Linked DNA regions of Homo sapiens: all the other regions are linked to region 2. The links are contacts of gene promoters, found by promoter capture Hi-C in blood cells and fetal thymus (Javierre and others, 2016). All regions are on one chromosome and are shown on one strand. Each heading gives the region's core, a stretch centred on a gene start or on the middle of the fragment in contact. The rest is flanking DNA. Distances are from core to core; before and after follow the strand shown. Region 1 overlaps SLC35G2 (solute carrier family 35 member G2). Region 2 holds the start of PCCB (propionyl-CoA carboxylase subunit beta). Region 3 has its middle 18 kb from the start of STAG1-DT. Region 4 has its middle 25 kb from the start of SLC35G2.

Evidence for each region. Contacts are between HindIII fragments. The CHiCAGO score rates a contact against its expected background, and 5 or more counts as called.
Region 1: a fragment that was not itself captured here is called in contact with the fragment with the promoter of PCCB in region 2 in 8 of 17 cell types (fetal thymus, neutrophils, naive CD4 T cells and 5 more); the score reaches 8.4 in fetal thymus.
Region 3: a contact is called between a fragment that was not itself captured here and the fragment with the promoter of PCCB in region 2, in 1 of 17 cell types (neutrophils). The highest score is 7.7, in neutrophils.
Region 4: a contact is called between a fragment that was not itself captured here and the fragment with the promoter of PCCB in region 2, in 7 of 17 cell types (total CD8 T cells, non-activated CD4 T cells, total B cells and 4 more). The highest score is 7.1, in total CD8 T cells.

The regions. Positions count from the first base shown.
Region 1 is chr3:136,830,641-136,837,650 of GRCh38, forward strand. The region is part of intron 1 of SLC35G2 (solute carrier family 35 member G2); the gene reads left to right. Among named protein-coding and RNA genes, the nearest start is that of SLC35G2, 15 kb to the left of the region's middle. The HindIII fragment of the contact is 805 bases long and covers 1,122-1,926 here.
Region 2 is chr3:136,245,610-136,252,843 of GRCh38, forward strand. PCCB (propionyl-CoA carboxylase subunit beta) reads left to right here and starts at 4,731. Exons shown (of 15, transcript NM_000532.5): 1 at 4,731-4,949. The coding sequence starts at 4,767. RefSeq lists enhancers at 4,370-5,236, 4,466-4,525, 5,156-5,205. The HindIII fragment of the contact is 10,493 bases long and covers 1-5,214 here.
Region 3 is chr3:136,767,053-136,774,360 of GRCh38, forward strand. No RefSeq gene overlaps it. Among named protein-coding and RNA genes, the nearest start is that of STAG1-DT, 18 kb to the left of the region's middle. The HindIII fragment of the contact is 8,760 bases long and covers 1-7,308 here.
Region 4 is chr3:136,790,732-136,797,835 of GRCh38, forward strand. No RefSeq gene overlaps it. Among named protein-coding and RNA genes, the nearest start is that of SLC35G2, 25 kb to the right of the region's middle. The HindIII fragment of the contact is 242 bases long and covers 1,971-2,212 here.

The DNA.
Region 1 (7,010 bases), core at 274-2,773, 580 kb after region 2:
TCTGACCTGGTGATCCGCCCACCTCAGCCTCCCAAAGTGCTGGGATTACAAGCATGAATCACTGTACACAGCCCACATCATTTCTTTTTATTCTTTTTTCTTTTTGCTCTTCTGACAGTGTATTTTCAAATGGCCTGTCTTTAATCTCAGTAATTTTTTTTCTTCTGCCTTATCAATTCTGCTATTAAGAGACTCTAATGCATTCTTCAGTATGTCAATTGCATTTTTCAACTTAACACTATTTCATAGTTATAATTATATGTGAACTCAATCCACATACCTGCCATCTTTACTAAATTTTGTTTAATCATTTTCTGACTGCATAAAAATCACTTGCTTTGTATCTCTCTTTTATTTAAGACCCCAAAGTATCAGCAACTTTACTGAACTCTTTTACTTTAGGAACTCAATGGAGGAAAGGAGAAATATTAGGTGATTTAATTTCCCATTTATTTTGCCTCTGGTTTCTGTGTAACTCTGGCTGGCCACTGTTGTAAATGGGAGTGAAGACCCTGAAAAATGAATGAGGCTGCTGAGGAGGGTGGTGGACAACAGCTAGATACTCACATTGCTTTTTGGATTCCCTTACTTTACAGTTAGGAGATACAAGATAGAGTTAGGTTGCAGAATTGTGACAACCAAAGCTCTGCACTACAACTAATTAGATCCAGAATTAGAGGTGCTTGGTTAAGAAGGTGACTTTCTCCAAAGCATATCAGCTAAGCCAGAGGACTCATTCATTTTTCCAGCATTTGTTGAGTCTTACACTGAGCTAGGGGTTGGAGATGTTTAGAAGAAAGATAAAGACATAATGCCTTTTCTTGGAGTGGTAACACTTTATCAGGGGATACTGGTACATAGGCACCTCACAATGATACAGTATGTCAAGGATGATGACAGAGCCCTGTAGAAAGTGTTCTAGAATCCAGAGAATGAACCAGATTGTTCAGTGAGAGGTTTTTCAAGTAGGTCACCAGGAAAGTTGAAGGCATGTGGGTGGGAATTTGCCAGAAATTGCTTTGTTGGGCATTAAGTAGCTGATAATCTCAAGTTGTAAACAAATGGTTTGGAATGTGACAGCCTGGGTTTGAAGCCTGACTGCACTATTTAGGACCTTGGTAAGCTTGGGCAAGTCACCAAACCTTGCTGAGCTTCGTTTAAGTTTTTTGAAAAAAGGAGTAATAGTACCTACCTTGTTGGACTTGTGGGTTTAAGTGAGATAATACATGTAAAGTGCTTGAGTCTAGTCTTTTTTTTTTTTGCCTATTTAAAAAATTGCATGTAAATCACTCTGCACAAATAATTATTCCTGTTAGAGCTCTCAGGGGTTAACAAACTGTAAACTCTTTGTGTCTTCTGCATTTGTGTGATCATTCTTCATTTTTTTTTTTGAGATGGAGTCTAGCTCTGTCGCCCAGGCTGGAGTGCAGTGGCACGATCTCGGCTCACTGCAAGCTCTGCCTCCCGGGTTCATGCCATTCTCCTGCCTCAGCCTCCCGAGTAGCTGGGACTACAAGTGCCCGCCACCAGGCCTGGCTAATTTTTTTGTATTTTTAGTAGAGATGGGGTTTCACAGTGTTAGCCAGGATGGTCTTGATCTTCTGACCTCGTGATCCACCTGCCTTGGCCTCCCAAAATGCTGGGATTACAGGTGTGAGCCACCATGCCCAGCTCATTCTTCTAATCTAGAAGTTTCTCTTTTAGTGTAGTTTAAATCTCAAACTGCTCCTTTTTACCAATTCTTATGCTATCCCAAAACAAATTAGTTCTAGGCTGAAATTGTCATTACTTTTGCTTTGTTCACCCATATTCTGATGTTAAAGCAAATCTATAGTTAATTGTATAATTTCCTTCCTTTAATGTGCATAGTACTTGTTGTGTCTGATATCTTTTCTCACCCATTAACATTTAAGTTCCTTAAGAGAAAGCTTATGCCTTCTTGGTCTTGTCTCTCATAATGTCTTAGCATGGTGCCTTCCACATCATAGGCACTCATAAATACTGACTGAATAAAGGAATAATCATGAATGCATGAGATTGCCAGATAGCTGATGTGATGTCAGACTGCCTTCATAGAAACAAAATCCCCCTGAACAGGACAAAGTATAGAAACTGAGGAGAGTGGTTAAGATGGTGGAAGGACTGAGGCCGGGTGTGGTGGCTCACGCCTGTAATCCCAGCACTTTGGGAGGCCGAGGCAGGTGGATCACGAGGTCAGGAGATCGACACCATCCTGGCTAACATGGGGAAACCCCGTCTCTACTAAAAATACAAAAAAATTAGCCAGGCATGGTGGCGGGCGCCTGTAGTCCCAGCTACTTGGGAGGCTGAGGCAGGAGAATGGCATGAACCTGGGAGGCGGAGCTTGCAGTGAGCTGAGATCGCGCCACTGCACTCCAGCCTGGGTGACAACAGCGAGACTCTGTCTCAAAAAAAAAAAAAAAAAAAAGAATAAAACATAAGATGGTGAAAGGACTGAAAACCATGATTATACATGGAATAATTGAAAACCCAGGGGCTATTCAGTTTGGAGAAGAGGAAACTTACAGTGGGAGAATTTAGATGAGGAGGGTAGGGAATAGTAGTTCACGTTATTGAAATGTTGTTAAGTGGAAGAGGGAATCAATTTGTGACCTCAGAAGACATATAGTAGCAGCCTCTGGAAATTACATGGAGAAAGATTTTGACTCATTGTTAAAAAGTAACTTTCTAACAATCAGGAATGACTTCCAACTGGCTGTTTTGAGAAGGAGTGTTTCTAGTCATTGTAGGTGGTCAATCAGAAACTGTACTATTTGATGGGGATGCTGTAGAGCAGTCATCCCCAACCTTTTTGGCACCAGGGACTGGTTTCATGGAAGACAGTTTTTCCATGGAAGGAGTCGGCGGGTGGGGGGTGTGTTCACGAATGGTTTCAGAATGAAGCGGTTCCACTTCAGATCATCAGGCATTAGAGTCTCATAAGGAACATGCAACCTAGATCCCTCACATGCACAGTTCACAATAGGGTTTGTGCTCCTGTGAGATATAATGTTGCCGTTGATCTGACAGGAGGTAGAACTCAGGCAGTAATGCTCGCTTGCTCTCCACTCACCTCCTGTTGTGTGGCCTAGTTCCTAACAGGCCACAGACTAGTACTAGTTCATGCACTGAGGGTTGGGCACCCCTGCTGTAGAGAGAAGATATACTTACTCTCAAAGGAATTGGAGTAGATGATCCCCAAAATCTTTTAAACTCTCATGGTCTTTAATTCTATGTATTGTAATATATATTAATGTATATATTTAATAAAGGTTAATCATATACAATGCTACTGTATATGGTATTGTATAGTAACCGTAAACAATAGCATTGTACATGATTTACCTTTATTAAATATATGTTAATATATGTATATATTTATGTATTGCATATTCTCATTATCACCAGATTGCCTAAATTAATGAAAGGTGAAAATGGCTTTTTAAAAATTTGATCTTGGATTATTTAAAAAAATATTACTAACATGTCTTTTGCTTGGGGACACTAGTGTATAAAACATTATATGAACAGTGTTTAAATTGCAATAAACAAATTTACATTGTTGTTAGCATGTCAGATGCAAGTAAATACTATTTTAATTTCTTTGTTAAATCTAAAAGGAGAAAAGTGAGCCAGAGTCAACTCATCCCAATTCAGATGAATTGTGTGTTTATTATTTATTTATTTTTGAGACGGAGTTTCACTCTTGTGGCTGAGGCTGCAGTGCAGTGGCGTGATTTTGGCTTACTGCAACCTCTGCCTCCCGGGTTCAAGCGATTCTCATGCCTCAGAAGAGTAGCTGGGATTATAGGCACCTGCCACCACACCCAGCTAAGTTTTGTATTTTTAGTAGAGGAGGAATTTCACCATGTTGGCCAGGCTGGTCTTGAACTCCTGACCTCAGGTGATCAGCCCGCCTTGGCCTCTGAAAGTTCTGGGATTACAGGTATGAGCCACTGCACCTGTGTGTTTAAAATTCAGGACTTCATCATCACCACCACCACTGTCTCACTATCACCATCATTGCTAACATATATATATAGCATTTATTATGTGTCTAGCTCTGTTGTAAACATACCACACATATTAACTCATGTACTTTTCCCCAAAATCCAACGAATTAAATACTGGTATTGCCATTTTTGTAACTTATTTTGTAGTAATTTCAAACTTACATAAAAGTTGCAAATATAATACAACAAACTCCTGGGTAAAAGATAACTCTCTTATTATTCTTCACCCAAGTTCTCCAATTGTAAACATTTTACATTTGTTTTGCCATTCATTTTCTTTTTCTGAACCAATCGAAGGTAAGTTGCAGAGGTGATATCCAATTATCCCTAACTACTTAAGTGTTTTCCTTTAAGACAAGGACCCTCTCCTGCATAACCACAGTGTTATCACCAAAATCAGAAATTTCACATTGATATAATTCCACTATCTAATCCACACACCACATTCAAAATTTGTCATTTGTCCTAACAATTTCCTTTTTGAAAAAGTATTTCTTACTTTTGGTCTAGAATCAAAGTCAGGATTATGAATTACATTTAGTTGTTATGTCTCTTTAATCTTTAATTTGTGACATTTCCTCAATCCTTCCTTATCTTTAGTGACCTTGACATTTTTGAGTTCAGGCCTTTTTCTTTTTTTTTTTTTTTTGTAGAGTTCCTCATTTTAGGTTTGTCTGATGTTTCTTCTTGATTAGATTCAGGTGATACATTTTTTTTTGGCAGGAATGTGATAGAAGTGAAATTGTATTCTTCCAAATGTATCATATTAAAAGGCACATAATATTGTTTTTTTGTTGGTGATGTTAACTTTGATGGCTTAAGGTGATAATTTCTCCACTGTTAAGTTATTCTCTTTCCCTTTGAATTAATAAGTATTTTGTAGGAAGACACTTTGAGGCTATGTAAACATCTGGTTTCTTAACAAAGTTTCACTTGCTTATTTTATGATTCTTGCATAAACTGTTACTAGGATGATTGCCAAATTGTAGTTTTTCTAATTACAATATTTGTTTTCCATTTACTAGTTGGGATTCTATTGTACAGAAGTTTTTTCCTCTCCCTTCTTATTGGCTTATTTCCATCAGCGTGGACTTGTGGATTTCTATTTTATCCAATAGATTATAAGCCATTACTATCACTATTGGTTTTGATGCTGAAAATGCTCCAGTTCCAGCCATTGGGATACCCTTCAAGCCAGCTCCTGTGTCCTTTTGGCATCTCTGTATCATTCTGAGAGTACTTTTTTGGGGTGCAAGACATTTCAGGCTCTTCTGGTATTTTTTCTGCCACAATCATTGCAGTTATTTCATCAGCTGTTTCTCCACTGAGCTCTGGTTCCTTTTACTTGAGAATGGATTTTTAGAACCAAGATCTGGATGCTAGGTGTGGTCATTGCTACTGGAGTGTTACTGTTTTTAGGCCATTTTAGCAGACAGAGCTAGGAAATTCACACACACACACCCACACACACACCCCTATATCTATTTATATATCTTTCTGTCCATTTATATTAAAACTCATGAATTTACTCCAATATCTCTAGCTCTACTCCAACACTACAGGGTTCATTCTAGTCTTCACCCTTATTCTATTTGTAACTTCCTTCTCTCTTGGTAAAAAAATCTGGCTTCCATTATCCTCGATATATTTAACTATTTACTCATTCTTCTTTTATGTAACCAATCTCCTGACCTCACAGGCCACCTCCTTGGCCCCAATTCTTCCTCAGATTCAGGCCTGCTTATCGACCAGTCTCTTCCCGACATAAATTAAACAACTAGAAGGTTGTGGAGCAGAAATTCAAACCTCAGTGCTGTAATTACTTGATAGAGAGCCCTTTATTAGGTCTTCAACACCAATGGAGTTGATTTGTGAAACAGCTTCTGTGAAAATGCTCATGGAAAAAAGGCCCTTGGACTAATGAGATGAAGATTTATCCACACAGAGTGTCAGCCCCAGAGATGTGCCTTCCATAAGAAACTTGGGAGCATCAAGCCAAATGCTCTACCTGCCAAGAACCACAGCAAGGGGATTCTCCAAAATTGGTGAGGTTCAGGGACCAGACAGCCAGCACCACCAGTGCTATAAATATCACACTGTGTTTTATCATATCAAGAGTACATTTCATTAAGATGTAAACATATTACTTTGCTATATTTCTGTAGAGGGAAATACTGCTTTTATTACAGATTCTTAGATTGAAATTCTAGGAGCTGGATGATGGTGTCTTCTCTTTTAGTGCTGACTTCATTTCCTGGTCCAGAAGATCAGAAATCTGTTCATGTTTTAGAGAACAGCATGAGGTCCATCTGTTCAGGTCAGATTTTTCCAAATTAACATAAAGATTTATGGGGTGGTAACTTATGTAAGAAAAGCCAAAGGTAATTATATTCTTTGCTGCCATTTGGAACTTACATTATGTTTTTGGTTAGTAATGAAAATATACTAGTATGTATCTACACACACACAACACACACACACACACACACAGAATTCTTTCAAACACTATGATAAAGTCATCCTCTTCAGTTTGTATAATATTTCACCTCTGTTTTGGTTTAGGCACCAGACACCATCCATTCAAATTTTCTCTGTAATGTGGTCTGTTTATGTACAGTTTTCCTTCCAACAGAAGGCACAGAAATAAAAGAGCTACAATTGGCTTCTTGGGTGACTATTTTAGTGTGACTGAAATACAGAGTAATGATTTTTTTCCTCTGATGAAAATAGCTTGATTTTTTTCTGATTTCAAAGGAAATATATACATATATGAAAAACAAACAGAAAAGAGAGAAAATACCATATAATTGAATTTCCACCATTTGCAAGGATAAATAGAATCACATCATGAATACTCATTGACATCTTTCTTTTTACTCAGCAATATGACATGAGGGTTTTCTTATGTAAATATATATACATATAAATTACCCTTTTAGATGGCTGCATATTACAGTAATGATTTTCTTTAACCAG
Region 2 (7,234 bases), core at 3,481-5,980:
AGCTACTCAGGAGGCTGAGTGGGGAGGATCACCTGAGCCCAGGAGTTCAAGGCTGCAGTGAGCTGTGATCCTGCCAATCCGCTCCAGCCTGGGTGACAGAGTGAGACCCTGTCTCAAAAAATAAAAAAAAATCTTTAAAATCTCTTCTCTCCACATGGATGACAGCTATTCTCACAAATTTCCTCTCTCTCACTCCCTTTACTCCTAACCACCCCAAACTCTATTGTGAGAAGACACCTGGACTGTACTGAACATAGTAACTGAGAGCCCCAGCTGTTGCTCTGAAATTCACTGCTGAAATTTGCACTGAGGTTACACCTTCCACGGGCTGCTCCCAGCATAGCTGCGGCAAAAATACTTTGGCTCCTGTACTCCCCAACAACCTTGCTGAACTTTCCTTAAAACTGCACGGTATTCTGAGAAGCTCCCACCCACCTTCCTTCCTTCCCTCTCTTCCTGACTGGAGGTCAGATTTGCATTGCAATCTCATGGGCCTCCCAGCTTCTCCCACTGTCTCCCCACTTTTTCTCACAGGTGGTTCCTCTAACTGATTTCTTTCTTTCTTTCTTTCTTTTGAGATGGAGTCTTGCTCTGTCGCCCAGGCTGGAGTGCAGTGGCGTGATCTCGGTTCACTGCAAACTCCACCTCTCAGGTTCAAGTGATTGTCCTGCCTCAGTCTCCCGAGTAGCTGGGATTATAGGCGTGCGCCACCATGCCTGGCTAATTTTTCTTTTTAGTAGAGATGGGGTTTCACCATCTTGGCCAGGCTGGTCTTGAACTCCTGACCTCAGGTGATCCCCCTGCCTTGGCCTCTCAAAGTGCTGGGATTACAGGAGTGAACCACTGCACCTGGCCCCCTTAATTGATTTCTTGCATGTTAATTCCCCTCTTGGCAATTGCTTCTCTGAAGACCCAGACTAAATTGTGACCTCTTCCATTTCCTCCTTCCTACCATTGCACTCATCTTTGCTGAAAGTTGTAACTGACTGGCCTAGAATGGCCAGAAAATGTTGGCACCTCACTGTCCCCCATCCATCCTCACTCCTTGTGGAAGGAAGTGAACAAATACTCTGAAATGTATCACTGTCCTTCACTTTAAGGAGAACTCATGAAAATTTCTGGTAAATAAGACTATCTCAGGATACTACTGGTAATCTATTAGGTAACACTTAAAGAGTACTTCACATTTGCTAGGCATTATGTTAGCTGCTTACATTTAAACCTTATAACTTGGCCAGGTATGGTGGCTCACATCTGTAATCCCAGCACTTTGGGAGGCTGAGGCAGGCGGATCACTTGAGATCAGGAGTTCAAGGCAAGCCTGGCCAACATGGTAAAACTCCATCTCTACCAAAAAATACAAAAAAATTAGCCGGGCGTGGTGGCACACGCCTGTAATCCCAGCTACTTGGGAGGCTGAGGCAGGAGAATCGCTTTAACCTGGGATGGGGAGGTTGCAGTGAGCCAAGATTGAGCCACTGCACTCCAGCCTGAGTGACAGAGCAAGACCCTGTCTCAAAAATAAATAAATAAATAAATAAAAATAAACCTTACAACTCTGAGGTAGAACTATTATTATTCCAATTTTACAGAAGAGGAAACTGAGGCCAAGTTGTCCAAGTCACACAGAGGTAACTGGCAGAGTTGGAACTAACCTCAGGACAGTCTAACACCAATGACTGGGCTCTTGTTATTATGTCATGGGTAACAAACTCAGAACACAAGGGTTTCACAGATCACCCCCTCTCCACTTTTACAGAGGAAACTGAGATCCTTAGGTGAATGACCCTGTGTTATCCAGGAAGTCAGGGCAGAAGCAAGATTTGTACCCAGGTGTTGACTCCAAATTTTCAGCTCTACTGTCTCAGAAAGTGAGAAAACTAAAAGATCAGGGTGACTCCTGTCTCACAATGGAGAAAAAAACTCAAACACAGCCACCAGCGGGGGGACTAAGGACAGGAAAGCAGCCTGGAGCATAGTGGTATTAAAGGGCAATTACTGGATAATTGCCTCCTACCTCCAACTTCCTCCTACCCCCACCCACCTGCCCCAAGCTGGAGCTTGCATGTGAGGTCTGAGGAATAACATTACAGATCTATAGAACTATGGAGTGCCCATAGGCAGGGCATTAGGACAGTGAGAAAGAAGTGGAGGGAGAGAGGACTAGCTGGAGGAAGCAGTTAGGTTCAGTGAGCCTCCCTGTGTTGGGTTTTCTACTAAGCACTGGTTATCTAAAGTTAAATAAGAAAAACTTCCTTGCTTCTGAGGATCAGGATAGACTGCATGGAGGAGATGATACCTGAGCAGGTTTCAGAGCCTGAAAAGACATAGAGGAGGGGGCGAAAACCTCTGGACTCACATGCAATTGCCTATTTGCTAGCTCGATTCAATTTCACAAATACATTCTAAAGGCCTTCTCTGCGTTGGGCCTTGTTCCAGGTGCTGGGACCACAGTGGTGAGCAAATCAGCTGCAGTCCCTGACCTTTGGCTGGAGAGTCTGTCTAGGAAGACAGCTAAACAATCTTAACACAGTGTGAGATGTGCTTTATGTAAGGAACCTACAAGGCACTGTGGGACAAGGGAGTCCAACTGCCCCCAGGCCAAAAGCAAGTCCCAATTTCTGAACATGAAAAAACTCTTCACAATCTAATGCCATTCTCACTTTCCAGTCTCATTTACCACCATTTCCCCAAAAGCTGGGAACACAACAAAGTATGTGTGTGTGTCTGTGTATGTGAATCTGAACATGCCAGGCCTTTGCTCACACTGCTTCTGTTCCCTGGCATATGGATGCTTTCTTGGAGAAACTCTCCTCAACACACTCAGCCTTACTCAAATTCTCTCTTGTGCTCCCAAGGCAATCTGCCTCTCTAGGTTGTCCATCTGCCTCTCTAGGTTGGTAAAGTCTTTAAAGCAAGGACCCAAATGCAAGGTCAAGAGTACCCATTACGGAGTTATACAGATACAGGTGGGCTTTGCCTAGCCAAGAGGCTTTGGCCTCTAAGCTGCCCTCTCTATCTAGATGAACTGTTACTACTCCAGGAAATGCAATCAGTACTGATGTTTAGTTCTTGGCACATGGTAGGTGCTCAAAAATGTTTTCTGAGTTGAATTGCATTAACATTAAGGTCATAGGTCAGAATTTGTACTTTATGAAGGCCCTGGCTATGAGCTGGATCTGGGAAGGGCTCATGATCAACTTTAGCAGTTTTCTGTGGCTAAAAATGAGAAATATAAACCATGTTCTTTGTCTTGAAGACCTGCCTGTTAGTGGGAGAAACAGATGGTCAAGCTCTCAACAGTACAATTCCAAATTCCTAGAGCAGTGGTTCTTAAACTTTAGCAAGCAGATCAGAATCACCTAAAGGTCATCTGCTAAAACAGATGGCTGGCCCCAGCCCCAGAGTTTCTGATTTAAAGGTCTGGAGTAAGTTCTGAGAATTCGAGCTTGCATTTCCAACTCACTCCCAGGTGATACTGAAGTTGCTGGATTGACAAGATTCCCTCCTTGATCAAACATTGGTCAGGCTCTTCTGAGCTCTCTCTTTGACTAGGCCTGAGTGTGGGCTCCCATGTCATTCCTTGTGGAATTCCATTTTAGCAAGAAACTTGCCAAGTCAGTTTAGCCAGAATCCTCCATTCTTGATATCTGATTACTCTCCATATCTGGTTTTGACCCATACCGCCACCATCCCCCAGGTGATGTTCAGTTACCCTGACCTGCCTTGGGCAGGAATCCTGTTAGGTCAATTTAGCCAGATTCCCCGCCAATGTTTCCTCTTAGTAATTTTCCATCCACTGACTTCCACACACTGCCCCTTAGCTATAAATTACCACTTTGCTATATTCAGCCCAATCGCTCTGACTTATGGCAAAACTCTATCCCTACCTCTGTCAGATTGGGCCTGAATAAAGTTTGCCTTACCATTCTTAAACATGAATAATTAAGTGTCATGAATAGTTTTTTCTTTAATGGGATCCATACTTTGAGAACTACTGATTAGAGGTTAAGGGTCCTGTGCTCATTATCTGGCACATATTAATGATAGGTCTCTGAGTTTGAATCCTGGCCAACCACATTGTCAGTCTTGGCTTTTTTTTTTTTTTTTTTTTGAGACAGGGTTTTGCCCAGGCTGGAGTGCAGTGATGCAATCACGGCTCACTGCAGCCTCGACTTCCTGGGCCAAGCCATCCTGCCGCCTTAGCCTCCCGAGTAGCTGGGGTCACAGGTGCAAGCCGCCATGCCCAGCTAATTTTTAATTTTTTTGTAGAGGTGGGGTCTTACTATATTGCTCAGGCTGGTCTTGGGCTCCTGGGCTCACCTACCTCGGCCTCAGTCTTGCCTCTTGATCAAATCACTCATCTCTCTGTGCTTGATTTACCTCATCTGTGAAATCCAGATAGTAAGCTAGTGCATGGTAAGTGCAAAAAGCAACACCTGGCACAATGCTTAATAAATGTTGGTTAAATCTTATAATCATTTTCTGTAGGAAGTGGGACGACAAAGTTAAGGGTCTAGGTGGTCAGAGAAGAGCAAGGACTATGTCCCTTTTTTGTGCAGCCAGGCAGGCCCTGTACTTTTTCTCTGCGCGACCCTCCTCGGGCAGCACCGGGTCTCGAACTCTCACGCCTTACTCCCAAGCAGGTTCTGTAGTCCAGCCCCCGCGGCTCCCTACAGCCAGCCGATGCTGCGCAAGCGCCGTACCCACGCTTTAGCACATGCGTACTCAGGTGCGCCGGTAGGGGACGCGCCGGCACAGCAAAAATGGCGGCGGCATTACGGGTGGCGGCGGTCGGGGCAAGGCTCAGCGTTCTGGCGAGCGGTCTCCGCGCCGCGGTCCGCAGCCTTTGCAGCCAGGCCACCTCTGTTAACGAACGCATCGAAAACAAGCGCCGGACCGCGCTGCTGGGAGGGGGCCAACGCCGTATTGACGCGCAGCACAAGCGAGTGAGTCCTGAGGGGCCTAAGTGAGTCCCGCCCCTGGCGTCCGCGACCTATCACTGCGTGCCCGGCTTGCGGCGTCCGAGGCCTCCCTGCCAATCCGCACGGTGCCTGGAGGGGCCGGAGCAAGGGTGTTCACCTTGAAAACCTGTAGCGTTTCTCGTGGAGGCGGGTATAACCAGCAGAAGCACCTGTGTGCTTTTTCATACTGTTTAACCCTTGGGATTTAGACGGATCTGGCTCGTCTCTAGCCAGCTCAACACTTAACATAAGCTTTTGGGCAACTTATTAAATCTCTGTGGGTCATTTTAATAATAATTCTTCCTTCACAAGTGTATCGTTAGACCATAGATAGCAAAATGATAGGCGCTCAGTAAAAACCATGTGCTTATTCTCGTGCCCCATGAAAGAGTGATGGTAGGTTCTTTCTCCTTTGTGGAAGCAGGAAAACTGAACTTGGGCATACTCCACTAACATGAAATGGGGGATGTGCGCGTGCAGGAACTTGTGGAACTTCTGCCCGCAGAATGCCTGGTCGAGCTCTTTAGGGCCTTAGCATGCCTCGCCTTGATGGGTAGCAAAGGCACGTGTCGGAAGCAGGTGGCCTTTCTGGGAGTGCGCAGGCTACTCTCGATGTTTGGCTGGACTGAGCAGTTGAAACACTGCCACCCACCGCCTGGGTTTTGAGGCGAGAATCCAGCTGGCCTTCAGAGATAAGCTGGGCGGCCCATTTTGGAGAGGTGATCCCTGACTTGAAACCAGGCTTGCCCAGTGTGTCCGTGACTGGTGGGTGAGTCTGGACCGTTGTGCTGAACGAATTAACCAACGGGAAGGTGCAGAAGTGAAACTCTTACAGATGAAGAGTATTCAGGCACAACTCACAACCATGAGGGAGGCACTGGGGGAGGGATGGGGTCTTAAAGTGAGGAGATTTGAACAGCTCTATATTTGTCTAATATTGATTCAGATGTCATAAATTCGCATTTGACAAGGGTCCAAAGGTAACAGTTCCTTTTGACACTTGAGAGTGAAATGTAAATTTAGTGATGGTTTGTGGTGCTAGGAGTGCTTTCTCTCCCCTGGGGCTACTTCTAACCTACTCTGTTAGGGCTGAGGGAGATGTTAGATCATCCTCTGGAAAGGCCTGTCAGTGCTCCTGTACACTCTTTCTGTTGGGGCCTATTGCTCAATTCTTCCCTGGAACATCGCCTAGCCCTTTCCCAGGTAGATCCTACTAGGTTTAGATGAAGCCTCCAGAAGCTGTTTTTCTTTTGCCAAAGTTAACTTAGGAGGCTGATTTAATATGAACCCCCTCCTGCACCCCTTTTTATTTTTATGTTTTGATACGGAGTTTTGCTCTTGTTGCCCAGGCTGGAGTGCCATGGTGCGATCTTGGCTCATTGCAACCTCTGCCTCCCAGGTTCAAGCTATTCTCCTGCCTCAGCCTCCCAAGTAGCTGGGATTACAGGTGCCCACGACCATGCCTGGCAACTTTTTTTTTGTATTTTTAGCAGAGACAGGGTTTCACCATGTTGGCCAGGCCGGTCTTGTACGCCTGACCTCAAGTGATTCACCCACCTTGGCGTCCCAAAGTGTTGGGATTATGGGTGTGAGCCACTGCACCCGGCCCTGCACCCCTTTTAAAACAATTTTTGACCATTTCCGTAGATTTTCCCAGAAGAGGAATTAGTGGGTCAAAGGGTGTAAGTTTATTTATTTTTTTTGAGACAGAGTTCACTCTGTTGCCCAGGCTAGAGTGCAGCAGCTCACTGCAACTTCTGCTTCCCAGCTTCAAGCAATTCTCCTGCCTCAGCCTCCAGAGTACCTGGGGTTACAGGTATGTGTCACCACATCTGGCTAATTTTTGTATTTTTAGTAGAGATGGAGTTTCACCATGTTGGCCAGGCTGGTCTTGAACTCCTGACCTCAGGTGATCCACCCGCGTCTGCCTCCCAAAGTGCTGGGATGACAGAATTTTTTTTTTTTTTTCCTTGAGACAGGGTCTTACTCTGTCACCCAGGCTGGAGGGCAGTGGTGTAATCATGGCTCACTGCATCCTTGACCTTCTGGGCTCCAGTGATCCTTCCACTTCAGCCTCCTACCCAGCTAATTTTTTTTTTTTTTTTTTTTTGGTAGAGACAGGGTCTCGCTTTGTTGCCCAGGCTGGTCTCAACTCCTGGGCTCAAGCAGTCCTCCCACCTTGGCCTTCCAAAGTGCTGGGATTACAGGTGTGAGCCGCAGTGCCTGGTCAGTATAAATATATTTTAAAAATCTGTATATATGTTGCCAAA
Region 3 (7,308 bases), core at 1,723-4,222, 520 kb after region 2:
TTCACTGTTGGGTAAGTCTTTGGTTCCTTCAGAATTGCTACATTTGCAGAGCGCCACCTTGCTCAAGGTTAGGTTCCTTCCCAAGTGGCCCACATGCAATTGCTGATCAAAGTGAAGGTATAAGAGGCCAGGCATGGTGGCTCACGCCTATAATCCTAGCACTTCAGGAGGCCAAGGTGGGTGGATGGCTTGAGCTCAGGAGTTTGAGACCAGCCTGGGCAATATAGCAAAACCCCATCTCTAAAAAAATAGAAAAATTAGCCAGGTATGGTGGCATGAGCCTGCAGTCCCAGGGACATGGGAGGCTGAAGTGGGAGGATGGTTTGACCCCAGGAGGTGGAGGTTGCAGTGAGCCAAGATTGTGTCCGGCCTGGACAACAGAGCCAAATGCTGTCCCCCGTCCCACCCCACCACACACACACACACACACAGAAACAAAACAAAACAAACAAACAAGCAAAACCTTAACGTGAAGGTATAAGAGCTTGACCATCTTAGCCCAACTTGGGACAACTCTAAAGGTCAATTGTAACATCCCAGACTCCCTATGTAATCTGCATAATCTCTCTCTGCCCAATCCGTGTCCTTCCCCCTCTGTTCCACAAGTGCTAACCCCAAGGGCACTCCTTAATAAATAACCTGCCTGTTAAATTCTGTTTCATAGTTTGCTTCCCAGGAACCCAACCTATGACAGTTGGTGGCAGGAGTGAGGTATGAGAAAGCAGGCACTAAGATGGGACTTTGGAGCATGATCACTAGCTGCCCACCTGACAATGAGGACCCCTATCACAAGATTACAGTCCAATTGTTAAAACTTTCATGCATGGTCAATTGGGTTGATACACCAGTAAAAGAGTATATATTTACAGATATGATGTATTAAGCATTTGAGAAACATGGGGGAAATAGCAACTATAAGGATGATGGAATTGATTGGTACTATGGACTGAAATATATCCCCCAAAATATCTGTATTGAAACCCTAGTCCCCAATGTGATTATATTTGGAGATAGGACTTTTAAGAGATAATTAAGGTTAAATTAGGTCATATGGGTGGGGTTCTACTCTGATAGTACTAGTGGTCTTTTAAGAAGAGGAAGAGAAATCTCTCTCTTTCTCTGTTTCTGCACGCATGCACCGATGGGGTTCTACTCTGATAGGACTAATGGTCTTTTAAGAAAAGAAAGAGAGATCTCTCTCTCTCTTTCCCTATCTCTGCACACATGCACCAAGGAAAGACCATGTAAGGACAAAGCAAGAAAGCAGCTATCTTTAAGACAGGAAGAGAGCCCTCACTAGGAATCAAGTCAGCTGGCACTTTGAAGTTGGACTTCCTAGCCCCCAAAAACTGTGATAAATAAAGTTCTGTTGTTTAAACCTCCTGATGTGTGGTATTTTGTTATAATAGTCCAAGCTGACTAAAACAGACTAAGACTATTGTTTAACCGATTGATGCACTAGAAAAAAGATAATGAAAAGTTGAAAATGATTAATCACCAATTTCTTCATTGAGAATGATTAATCACCAAGTGAAAATTAGAGAGTCTGCTTAATAGCTCACAAAGTGGCTCTCCTCTCCAGCAGTGGGGGTACAGAATAAGCTAAAGAATAAACTTAGAGTAGCTAAGCTCCAAAGAAGATTCACTTTCCAGTCAACACAGGTAAATCAAGTTAAGGTCAGGGCCCTAGTTGGGAAAGAATGGGGCTTGACACATTAGATGAGGACGTTCCTAAAAGTGGCCCACCCTCTCTGCACCATTGCTCAGAGATGGTGCAGAGACCTCTCTCTATCAAGACAACAAGTGTTGTCTGGGTGCAGTGGCTCATACCTGTAATCTCAGCACTTTGGGAGGCTGAGGTGGGAGGATCACCTGAGACCATGAGTTTGAGACCAGTCTGGGAAACATGGAGACCTTGTCTCTACAAAAAAAAAATTAGCCAGGCATGGTGGCACACATCTGTGGTCCCAGCTGAGGCAGGAGGCTGAGGCAGGAGGGTTGCTTGAGTCCAGGAAGTCAAGGATGCAGTGAGCCATGCCTGCACCACTGCACTCTATCCTGGGCAACAGAGTGAGACCCTGTCTCCAAAAAAATGCATAAATAAGTAGGCCAGGCGTGGTGGCTTATCCCTGTAATCCCAGAACTTTAGGAGGCCGAGACAGGCAGATCACCTGAGGTCAGGAGTTCAAGACCAGCCTGACCAATATGTGAAACCCTGTCTCTACTAAAAAAAAAAAAAATACAAAAATTAGCTGGGTGTGGTGGTGGGCACCTGTAATCCCAGCTACTCGGGAGGCTGAGGCAGGAGAATCCCTTGAACCTGGGAAGTGGAGGTTGCAGTGAGCCGAGATCATGCCACTGCACTTCAGCCTCGGTGACAAAGCAAGACTCCGTCTCAAAAAAAAAAAAAAAAAAAAAAAATTAGCTGGGTTCGGTGGCTCATGCCTGTAATCCCAACACTTTAGGAGGCCAAGGTCGCCAGATCACTTGAGGCCAGGAGTTCGAGACCAGCCTGGCCAACTTGCTGAAACACCGTCCTACTAAAAATACAAAAATCAGCTGGGTGTGGTGGAGCATACCTGTAGTCTCAGCTACTTGGGAGGCTGAGACAGGAGAATCTCTTGAACTGAGGAGGCGGAGGTTGCAGTGAGCCAAGATCGTGCCATTGCACTCCAGCCTGAGTGACAGAGTGACTCCATCTAAAAAATAATAATAGGTTGGGTGCAGTGGCTCATGCCTGTAATCCCAGCACTTTGGGAGGCTGAGGCAGGCAGATCATGAAGTCAGGAAATCGAGACCATCTTGGCTACCACAGTGAAACCCCATCTCTACTAAAAATACAAAAAATTAGCTGGGCGTGGTTGCACATGCCTGTAGTCCCAGCTACTCAGGAGGCTGAGGCAGGAGACTCGCTTGAACCTGGGAGGCAGAGGTTGCAGTTAGCTGAGATCCCGCCACTGCACTCCAGCCTGCGCGACAGAGCAAGACTCCATCTCAAAAAATAATAAATAAATAAATGTCTAATTGGACAGTTATTATAAGATCAGAGAGACAGTCGGGGGAGGTGGCCCTCAGAGGATTATTATGGAGATAATTAATGTGGTGTCCTTAGGGAAAAAAATAGGTGGGCAACCAATAAGGGTATTCAGTTTGTTTTTTAAAAATTTATGACCAGGAGACTGAATCAGTAACCCCAATTGAAATATAATTCCTTGACAAGTTTCCAAACATGAACTCATGCTTTAGACATGAAATCCATTAACTCAAGGAGAGATTAGGTCCCCAGGAAAAAATAACCTGTAACACCATGGTGAAAGTACACAGGAATGATTTTCTCCGTCCTTCCCCAATGGTTGTTCCAGAACTGTTGGACCTATGGCTTTACTCAAATAATCATGCACTGGGAAAATGGTAGTAGTACCAAAACATTTCAAAGACTATTGGTTCCAGACTCTGAATTAACGTTGATACATAGAGACCCAAAGAATCATTTATGGTCCCCCTATTAGGGTAGGTACATGTGGGGGTCAGGTAATAAATGAAGTCCTACCCAAGATGCCATGGTCTGAATGTTTAAGTTCACCCAAAATTAATATGTTGAAACCTAATTCCCAATGTGATAATATTAAGAGCGGGTCCCTTGGGAAATGATAGATCTTGAGGGCAGAGCTGTCATGAATGGGATAAGTACTCTTATAAAGAAGCCTGAGGGCTGGGCATGGTGGCTAGAGCCTGTAATCCCAGCACTTTGGGAGGCCGAGGTGGGCAGATCACATGAGGTCAGGAGTTCCAGACCAGCCTGGCCAACAAGGCAAAACCCCATCTCTACTAAAAATACAAAAATTAGCCAGACATGGTGGCACGTGCCTGTAATCCCAGCTACTCAGGAGGCTGAGGCAGGAGAATCACTTGAACCCAGGAGTTGGAGGTTGCGGTGAGCCGAGACTGCGCCATTGCACTATAGCCTGGACAACAAGAGCAAAACTCTGTCTCAAAAAACAGAAAAAAAAAAAAAAAAAAAAGAAGAAGCCTGAGGAAGCTGCCTTACCCCTTCCTCCATATGAGGACACAGGGAGAAGGTGCTATGTATGAAGAACAGGCCCTTACCAGACACTGAAATCTGCTGGCAACTTGTCTTGAACTTTCCAGCCTCCAGAACTGTAAGATTTAAATGTTCATCACTTATAAGCTACCCGGTTTTGGGTATTTTGTTATAGTAGTCTGAATTCACTAAGAAACAAGGTCCAGATCACATTGGATCTACTCTTCTACAGACCTATATGTTGGTAATTTCCCCATTTCCCAAATACATAATCAGAGTAGATATACTTCATAGTTGGCACAACTCCCTCATTGGGTCCTTGGCCTATGAAATAACAATTATAATGATATAAATCAAAAATAGTACTGTAGGCTGGGCACCATGGCTCACACATATAATCCCAGCACTTTGGGAGGCCGAGCCAGGCGGATCACTTGAGGCCAGGAGTTCGAGACCAGCCTGGCCAACATGGCAAAACCCCGTCTCTACTAAAAATACAAAAATTAGCCAGGCTTTGTGGCAGGTGCCTGTATTCCCAGCTACTTGGGAGGCTGAGGCAGGAGAATCGCTTGAACCCAGGAGGCGGAGGTTGCAGTGAGCCAAGATTACACCACTGCACTCCAGCCTGGGAGACAGAGCAAGACTCTGTCTCAAAAAAACAAAACAAAACAAAACAAAACAAAAAACAGTACTGTTGGAGGAATGGCAGAAATTAGTGCCACTCTGCTATGGTTTGAATGTGTCCCCCAAAAAGTATATGTTGAAAACTTAATCCCCAATGCAATAGTGTTGGGAGGTGAAGCCTAATGGGAAGTGATTAGGCCATGAGGGCAGAGTGAGTGAATTAATGCTGTTATCTTGGTAGTGGGTTTGTTATGAAAGGAAGAATTTGGACCCTTTTTACTCTCTCTCTCGCACTTCCACCTTTCACCATGGAATGAGGAGCAAGAAGGCCTTGCCATATGCCAGCCTCTTGCTCTTGGACTTTCCAACTTCTAGAACTGTAAGAAATAAATTTTCATTTATTAAAAAATCACCCATTCTGGCTAGGCTCAGTGACTCACACCTACAATCGTAATCCCAGCTCTTTGGGAGGCTAATAAGGCAGAAGAATTGTCTCCCAAGTCTGAGCTCTACAAAGTTGGAGGTACAGGTCCCCAGAAGGAGTGCAATTTTACCAGAGAATATAGCAAGACTCCCACTGAGTTCCAAGCTATGGCTATCAACCTGGGCCCTTTGTGTTCTTTGTGTCCAGGGATAGCAGGCAAAAAGAAGAGTCACCATTCTGGCATCAGGGAAAGGTTAGATAGCAGAAGCATGAATGTTTGGCATTTAGGTAATCTAACTGTGTACCTCCTGGTGTATGATTTTTCCCAATTTTGACCATAAATAGACAAATACAGCAACCTCGGCTTGAGAAAGGAATAAAAACTAGGGGAAACCCTTCAAAGATGAGGGTCTGGGTCATGCCACCAGGTAAGCCACTGAGGTAATAGCTGAGGTAAGAGGACTCTAAACTGGATAGAGGACAAGGGAGACAATAAGTATCAGTCGCAGCCCTGAGACTAGTGGCAGTAATAAGAGCTATGGTTTGCTCCATTAATCTTACTTTTCTAAATGTCCCACAGAAAAAGAGAGGCCCATCCTAATGCTGGTATTGCTGCTCCTAGAACATATATGAAGATGTAGATCTGAACAGAACAAGACTATGGTGGACACTGTGATATGCTGCTCAGATCCTCCTTCAATGAAGGATTACCTCAACTTCTGGGAATGCTATTGGCTCCTTCAGGGATTGCCTTAGCTACAGAGAGACAGGTCCCTTCCCAAGATGACTCATATCCAGTGATCAATGCCAGGGTAAAAAGGCCTGACTGACAGGGTGCAGACGGGGTGCAGGGGCTCATGCCTGTAATCCCAGCACTTTTGGAGGCCAAGGCAGGCAGATTACATGAGGCCAGGAGTTTGAGACCAGCCTGGCCAACATGACAAAACCCTGTCTCTACTAAAAACACAAAAATTAGCTGGGTGTGGTGGTGCACATCTGTTATCCCGGCTACTCAGGAGGCTGAGGCACAAGAATTGCTTGAACTGGCGAGGCAGAGGTTGCAGTGAGCCAAGATCACACCACTGCACCCCAACCTCTGTGGCAGAGCAAGACTGTCTCCAAAAAAAAAAAAAAAAAAAAATCCTGACCATCTCCAATTTGGGATAACTCTGAGGGATCATTTCAGTTGCAGAACTTCCTGTGAGGTCAGCTGAGGCTACCATTGGGTTTAAAATCCAATATAACTTCTCTGTCTGTTCAATTCTGTTTCCTTCCCCTCTTTTCCACAGATGTTGATACCAGGAGCACTTCATCTCAGAATCTGCCTTCCCCAGGACCCAACCCAAGATATCCATTTTATATCCTTATAATAGATTACTATGTATCTATTAAAAAGATACAACACTTCCATATTACCTGTTGGCTTAGAAAGAAACCCAAAGTACATTAAATTCAACAAAATCAGGTTAATATAAACTAGGAAAAAGTTTGGATACATAGTTTAGTGTTAACAGTGAGTATCTGCTGGGTGAGGTGGCTCACTCCTGTAATCCCAGCACTTTGGGAGGCCAACGCGGATAGATTGCTTGAGCCCAGGAGTTCAAGACCAGCCTGGGCAACATAGCAAAACCCCGTCTCTACAAAAAATACGAGAAATTAGCTGGGCATGCTAGGGTGCTCCTGTAGCCTGTGATCTCATCTACCTATCTGGAAGGCTGAGTTGGGAGGATTACCTGAGCCCAGAAGGTCTAGGTTTCAGTGAGCCATGATCGTGTTACTGCACTCCAGCCTGGGTGATGAATTCAAACCGTTTCAAAAAACAAAACAAAACAACAATGAGTATCTGTGGATAATGCTTTTTATTTTCCTTTCTTTTTTTTTAGATGGAGTCTTGCTCTGTCTCTCAGGCTGAAGTGCAGTGCTGCCATCTCGGCTCACTGCAAACTTCACCTCCTGGGTTCAAGTGATTCTCCTGCCTCAGCCTCCCAAATAGCTGGGATTACAGGTGCCCGCCACCACACCTGGCTAATTTTTGTATTTTTAGTAGAGGCAAGGTTTCACCATGTTGACCAGGCTGGCCTCAAACTCCTGACCTCAAATGATCTACCCACCTCGGCCTCCCAAAGTGCTTGGATTACAGGTGTGAGCCACCACACCCAGCCTTTTTATTTTCCTTTCTACAAATTTCCTGTTTTGCTTTTCAGACATGGTCTCACTC
Region 4 (7,104 bases), core at 842-3,341, 540 kb after region 2:
CACAGTAGGTTGAAACAATTCCACCAAAATGATATATAAATGGAATGAAGAATTAAAGAGTAGTGCCATTTTCTGGTTATTTTCCTGAGTCAGTTCTAATATCACCCACTCTGCAATATCTTTTCCCCTTCCCCTCCCCTATCACTAAATACTGTCATTTGTACCAACGAAATATCCCTGGGACCTCTGCACTTCATTCCCAGGGCCTCTGCTTTGATTAAAGCAGGTTGGCCCGCTCACAGCTCCCCAGTGTCTCTGACCATCTCCTCGCAGCTGTCAGGGGGAAGGTTCTAAACACAAATCAGTGCATCTCACTTTCCAGCTTAAAATCTCTCAGGGGTTCTCACTATCTCCAAAGTAAAAGCTACATTTCCTCACTTGATCCCAGAGTCCTGCTGACACCTGGCCCTGCTCCCTCTCCAGCCTCATCTTGTGCTTATACTCCCATCACATATAATTGCCCATAGAGCCTCAAAAGGTCCCCTATGTTTTCTGCCTCTCAGCTTTGGCTCTTGCTATTTCTCTGTACCTGGAATCCACTTTTCCCCCTTGTGAAACTCCCCTCAGCAAACTACTACTCATCCTTCAAGACCCTATCCAAGTGATTCCAGATCAATGAAGCCTCCTCTGTCTACCCTGCAAGGGAATAGCATGGGGCAAAATGACTACATGCCAGTTCCTTGTAGGCTGAGCACCAAAGAGAGATGGGGCTCTGACCATGGGTAGGGATCAAAGGAATAGATCGGAAGTTGCAAACTCAGAACTTACCCAGTCCTTATTCTGTCTCCAGAAGTGTTTTCTTTGTCAGGCATGGGTTTTAATTTTTTAATTTTGAGCAGCTGTTCTTCAGGTCTCAATTTATGTTACATTGTTGGTCCCGGAAGGCCTCTGGGTAAGTGGGTGAAAGGGTTGTGGGAGGGGAACTGTTAAGAAGGGCTATATAGGGCCATGCCGGTGGCTCACGCCTGTAATCCCAGCACTTTGGGAGGCCGAGGTGGGCGGATTATGAGGTCAGGCGTTTGAGACCGGCAGATTACGAGATCAGGAGTTCGGGACCAGCCTGACTAACATGGTGAAACTCCGTCTCTACTGAAAATACAAAAAATTAGCCAAGCATGGTTGCATGCGCCTATAATCCCAGCTACTTGGGAGGCTGAGGCAGGAGAATTGCTTGAACCCGGGAGGCGGAGGCTGCAGTGAGCTGAGATCATGCCACTGCACTCCAGCCTAGGTGACAGAGTGAGACTCCATCTCAAAAAAAAAAAAAAAAAAGGGCTATGTAAGTATTTGCTGTTTTTGGTTTTTGGACAGTACCATCCCTCCAATATACAAGGAAGAGTGTGGTGCTCTACTACTTGGTATACGTATGGCCCCAACCATAGGACTTCTTTTTTTTTTTTGAAATGGAGTCTCGCTCTGTTGCCCAGGCGCGATCTTGGCTCACTGCAAGCGCCACCTCCCAGGTTCACACCATTCTCCTGCCTCAGCCTCCCAAGTAGCTGGAACTACAGGGGCCCACCACCACGGCTAATGTTTTTGTATTTTTAGTAGAGACGGGGTTTCACCGTGTTAGCCAGGATGGTCTCGATCTCCTGACCTCATGATCTGCCCGCCTCAGCCTCCCAAAGGACTTCTTACAAGTTCAGTTAGAGGCACCCATGAGAGTAACCATGCTCAAAGCTAATGGTACAAACAGAGCCTCCTCAACAAGATCTGCCCCTTGCTGCCTGGGTATGTAGCTGGAAGGGCTAGGGCTGAGTGCTCACAAACTGGCCATCAGTGGCACAAGCCTGGCCACCATCAAGCCCTGTTCTACCTCTCTGTCATCTGTGTATCACAGGCTGAAATTGGTGTGCCATGTTTACTTAATTGAGAAAGAGAGAAGGCAATTTGATTTTTATCCTGCTGGTAGAGTCCTGCATCTTTTTCTGTATCCAAATAAGTCAGAACCAAGGCAGAAGCTTGCACAAAGCTTCCCAGGGAGCTCAAATACTCTCATGCTGCTTCCCCCTCCCCTCATTGCTTGGCCCCTTCTGTTCTTTGTATGTGCTTCTGTCATAGCACGTGGCACACTAGTATACCAAATGTTTTCCAGTCCAAAACGCTATAGATTGTAAGACATCTTTTAATCTATTAATTTAATAATAGATATCTGTGTCGGGGGAATCCATAACATTAAATGAACTCATCTATTCATGCATCTGACTTTGGAAGCTTTAAAATGTTTTTTAAAAGCGTCTTTAAATTGAGGAACTAAGTCAATGATTTTTTACACTGTTTCTCTTCAACAGACTGTGAACTTGGTGAAGTCAGGGACAGTATATTTTTGTCCCTCTCCTCCCCAACTCCCCACCCCCAGGCCATGCCTGTTGGTGTCCTGAATGAATGTTTCATTTGGAAATTTTTCTAGAAGCTCTCTTGGTTACTATGGTAACCCAAAATTGGCTTCAAAGCCCTGTGTACCAAGGGAAGCCCTGCTGAGGATGGCTGCCTGCTGACCTGGACTCTGAACCAGGCTGCATATGCTGACCTCCCTTCCTGGGCAAACAGAAAAATGATGGAAATGAAACACTTTTGATAAAAACTGCAGAGATGACAGCTTTGCTAATATAAAAAAATTTATTTTACATAATTCTGTTGACAATTTTCAAACTTTTTTACCAATGCAAAAAAAAAAAAAATCTGACCTCTCAAAGTCTTTTCTCGGTGAGCCCCTAGACAATTTGAACAAAGGACCCTTAGTGGAGAGTTAGAAAATCTATTCTCATGGTTCAGTAATTTGCTGAACTTCTGTTGAATCCATTTATTCTCTGAAAATATAAAGATTCCAGCTAAGAAATAATGCATATAAATACAATAATAGTGTCATTTCCCAGGTGCCTATTCATGCTCCAGGTACTTCACATAGACTTACTTGACAAACACTGATATATCATTTACTGTGTACTAAGCCCCTTTCTATGTTCTTTACACACATTAATTCATTTGATTCTTATAACAAGCCTATGAAGCAGCTTATATTGTTATTCACATTCAATTGAGGCATAGAATTGAGGCATAGAGGTTAAGTAACTTGCTCAAGTTCACATAGCTAGTAAGCTCTAGAGACCAAATTCAAACCCAGGGTGCTTGGCTCCAGAATCTGTGTTCCTCACCAAGTTGCTACACTGCCTTTTTTAATCTTTTCAATAATCCAGTAAAATAGTGACATCTATTTTATTGAATTGTACCAATTGAACAGATTGGATACTCAAGTTTAGTCAGGTAACATGTCTCCATAGCTTCTCTGCTTCTGACCACATTCTGCCCTGGGAAAATTCTGGAAACACTCCTAAGGGTTATTAGAATCAACTTTCCAGCTGGGCGTGATGGCTCACGCCTGTAATCCCAGCACTTTGGGAGGCTGAGGCGGGCAGATCACAAGGTCAAGAGATCGAGATCATCCTGGCCAACATGGTAAAACCCTGTCTCTACTAAAAATACAAAAATTAGCTGGGTGTTGTGGCGCCTGCCTGTAGTCCCAGCTACTCAGGAGGCTGAGGCAGGAGAATTGCTAGAACCCGGAAGGTGGAGGTTGCAGTGAGCTGAAATGATGCCACTGGACTCCAGCCTGGCAACAGAGCGAGACTCTGTCTCAAAAAAAAAAAAAAAAAAAAAAAAAAAAATTCAACCTTCCATCTCCCACTTCCCCAAATACATATACATACATTCACAGGAAATGTACACTGTTTCTCTCAAAGTTATTTTTAGGAGTCTAGGAGCCCCACATGCACAGAGACAAATTATTTTTAAGTGATGCTGTAAGGCATGCACTGGCAGGAATTGAATATGCAAACATGAGTTCAATTAATTAGAAGAGAGTGTTTCTTTTAAGAACACAAAATAACTGCTGTTTGAAGTGTGAGCTCGTAATCAGGAATACTGTAACTTAAATGCCTAAAGCATTTGAACTATATTAGCCTAAGAAAGTGCTCTTGGGATATGGAAGAGTATTGTCTTCCACAGACCTGTCAGTTGGGAGAAGATATAATACCCTAAAGCTGGTTCCACTCCCCTAGGTGTAACTTTGAGTAGGTTGAACATACAATAGTAGGGTAACCAACCATCCTGATCGACCTGGGACTATCCAGGTTTTAGCACAGAAAGTCCCCCATACTAATGAAACCTCTTAGTCCTAGAAAAACTGGGATGGTTAGTCACCCTCAATTGAGAACCAGTTATGTTCCAGCAAGGTGGTTTATGCCTGTAATCCCAGCACTTTGGGAGGCTGAAATGGGTGGATCACCTGAAGTCAGGAGTTCGAGACCAGGCTGGCCAACCTGGTGAGACCCTGTCTCTACTAAAAATACAAAAAATCAGTCGGGTGTGGTGGTGCACGCCTGTAATCCCAGCTACTTGGGAGGCTGAGGCAGGAGAATTGCTTGAACCCGGGAGGCAGAGGCTGCAGTGAGCTGAGATCGTGCCACTGCACTCCAGCCTGGGCAACAGAGTGAGACTCGGTCTCAAAACAAACAAACAAACAAACAAAACAGTTATGAGTGACAATTTCTGGGAGAAATTCCCTTTTGCCTGGAGAAGAGGAAATGAGGGTAGTGAGAGGTAAAGTTCATGCCAGGCAGAGAGAGAGCAGCTTGAGCAAAGGCCGAGAGGTGTGAAATGTTAGGGGGCTTTTGGGAAGTTGCAAGACTCCCTCATGGCTCTAGTTTAGAGTTGAGGAGTGATGTAGAGTAGAAAGTGAGGGGAAAGGGAGGTGACTGGCCAGATGTTAAACTAATGGAATTTGAAATTCCTGGATAGAGCTTTATGAGCCTGGTTCAATATTAAGGAGCTGTCACCAGGACCAAGAGCTCTTTTCTGGTGATGATGGTCTTTTTGAGTCTTGGTTAAATTAAAAACAAAAGAAAACAAAATGAAAATGGGCTTGGGGCTGTGGGCAGTGGCTCATACTTATAATCTCAGCACTTTGGGAGGCCAAGGCAGGCAGATCGCTTGAGCTCAGGAGTTTGAGACCAGCCTGAGTAACATAGGAAACCCTCTCTCTACAAAAAATACAAAAATTAGCCAGGTCTGGTGGTGCATTCCTGTAGTCCCAGCTACTCGGGAGGCTGAGGCAGGAGAATCACTTTAACCTGGGAGGTGGAGGTTGCAGTGAGCTGAAATCACACTGCTGCACTCCAGCATGGATGACAGAGTGAGACCCTGTCTCAAAAAAAGAAAACAAAAAAAGTAAAACAATAATAAAAGGGCTTGGCTTATAGAATCTTAAATCAGTGGTCATCAAACATTTTGACTCACATATTCTCTAAAATAATTTGAAAACTACGTATCTCCTTGCATTTTTTAAGTTGACATTTAACATTTTTATCATAAGTTTAATCATTGCAAACTATATAGTTTCTGGCACTTTAAAAATACAGACATTTGGCCGGGCGCGGTGGCTCACGCCTGTAATCCCAGCACTTTGGGAGGCCGAGGCGGGCGGATCACAAGGTCAGGAGATCAAGACCATCCTGGCTAACACGGTGAAACCCCGTCTCTACTAAAAATACAAAACATTAGCCGGGCGAGGTGGCGGGCGCCTGTAGTCCCAGCTACTCGGGAGTCTGAGGCAGGAGAATGGCATGAACCCCAGGGCGGGGAGCCTGCAGTGAGCCGAGATCGCGCCACTGCACTCCAGCCTGGGCGACAGCGAGACTCCGTCTCAAAAAAAAAAAAAAAATAGACATTTTAAAATTAAGTCATTATATAACTTTTAAATAAATCCAGTGGAATCTAAATAACAAAGCAATTCAATATTTGATATCCTCCCCATCAACATTATTATCATTATTATTATTTTTTGGAGATAGAGTCTTGCTCTGTGGCCCAGGCTGGAGTGCAATGGTGTGCAACGGTGTGATCTCGGGTCACTGCAACCTCCGCCTCCTGGGTTCAAGTGATTCTCCTGCCTCAGCCTCCTGAGTAGCTGAGATTACAGGTGCCCACCACCATGTCGGCTTTTTTTTGTATTTTTAGTAGAGATGGGGTTTCACCATGTTGGCCAGGCTGGTCTTGAACTCCTGACCTCAGGTGATCAGTCCACCTGGGCCTCCCAAAGCACTGGGATTACAGGCGTGAGCCATCACACCTAGCCCCAAACCAACATCCATTTAAAAAATACATGAACAGTCCATCTCAGTGGCTCACGCCTATAATCCTAGCACTTTGGGAGGCTGAGGCAGGCAGATCATGAGGTCAAGAGATTGAGACCATCCTGGCCAACATGGTGAAACCTCGTCTCTAATAAAAGTACAAAAATTATCTGGGTGTGGTGGTGCGCACCTGTAGTCCCAGCTATTCAGGAGGCTGAGGCAGGAAAATCTCTTGAACCTGGGAGGCGGAGGTTGCAGTGAGCCGAGATGGCACCACTGCACTCCAGCCTGGCAACAGAGTGAGACTCTGTCTCAAAAACAAAACAAAACAAAACAAAACACGAACAACCTCTTTTTCAGCAGAAAATTTTACATTGGCCTTTTTTCTCCTTGAACTTATATTTCCATTCCACTTTCTCCACAGATTTTTTTTTTTTTTGAGACAGAATTTCACACCCGTTGCCCAGGCGGAAGTGCAATGGCACAATCTTGGCTCACTGCAACCTCCGCCTCCCGGGTTCAAGCGATTCTCCTGCCTCAGCCTCCCAAGTGGCTGGGATTACAGGCACACACCACCACGCCCGGCTAATTTTTGTATTTTTAGTAGAGATGGGGTTTCACCACATTGGCCAGGCTGGTCTTGAACTCCTGACCTCGTGATCTGCCCGCCTCAGCCTCCCCAAGTGCTAGGTTTACAGGCATGAGCCACTGCACCCAGCCCACAGAATTTTTTTATACTTGAAAGTCTTTTATTGATCACACCATCATACTTCTTGGCAACAAAAATTATGTATGTAAATTAAAATGGAATTAATTAGAAAGAAGTTTATTAATGAGATGGAAGGCTATTTTTATTCTATTTTATTTTATTTATTTATTATTTTTGAGACGGAGTCTCACTCTGTCACCCAGGCTGGAGTGCAGTGGCGCGATCTCGGCTCACTGAAAGCTCCACCTCCTGGGTTCATGCCAT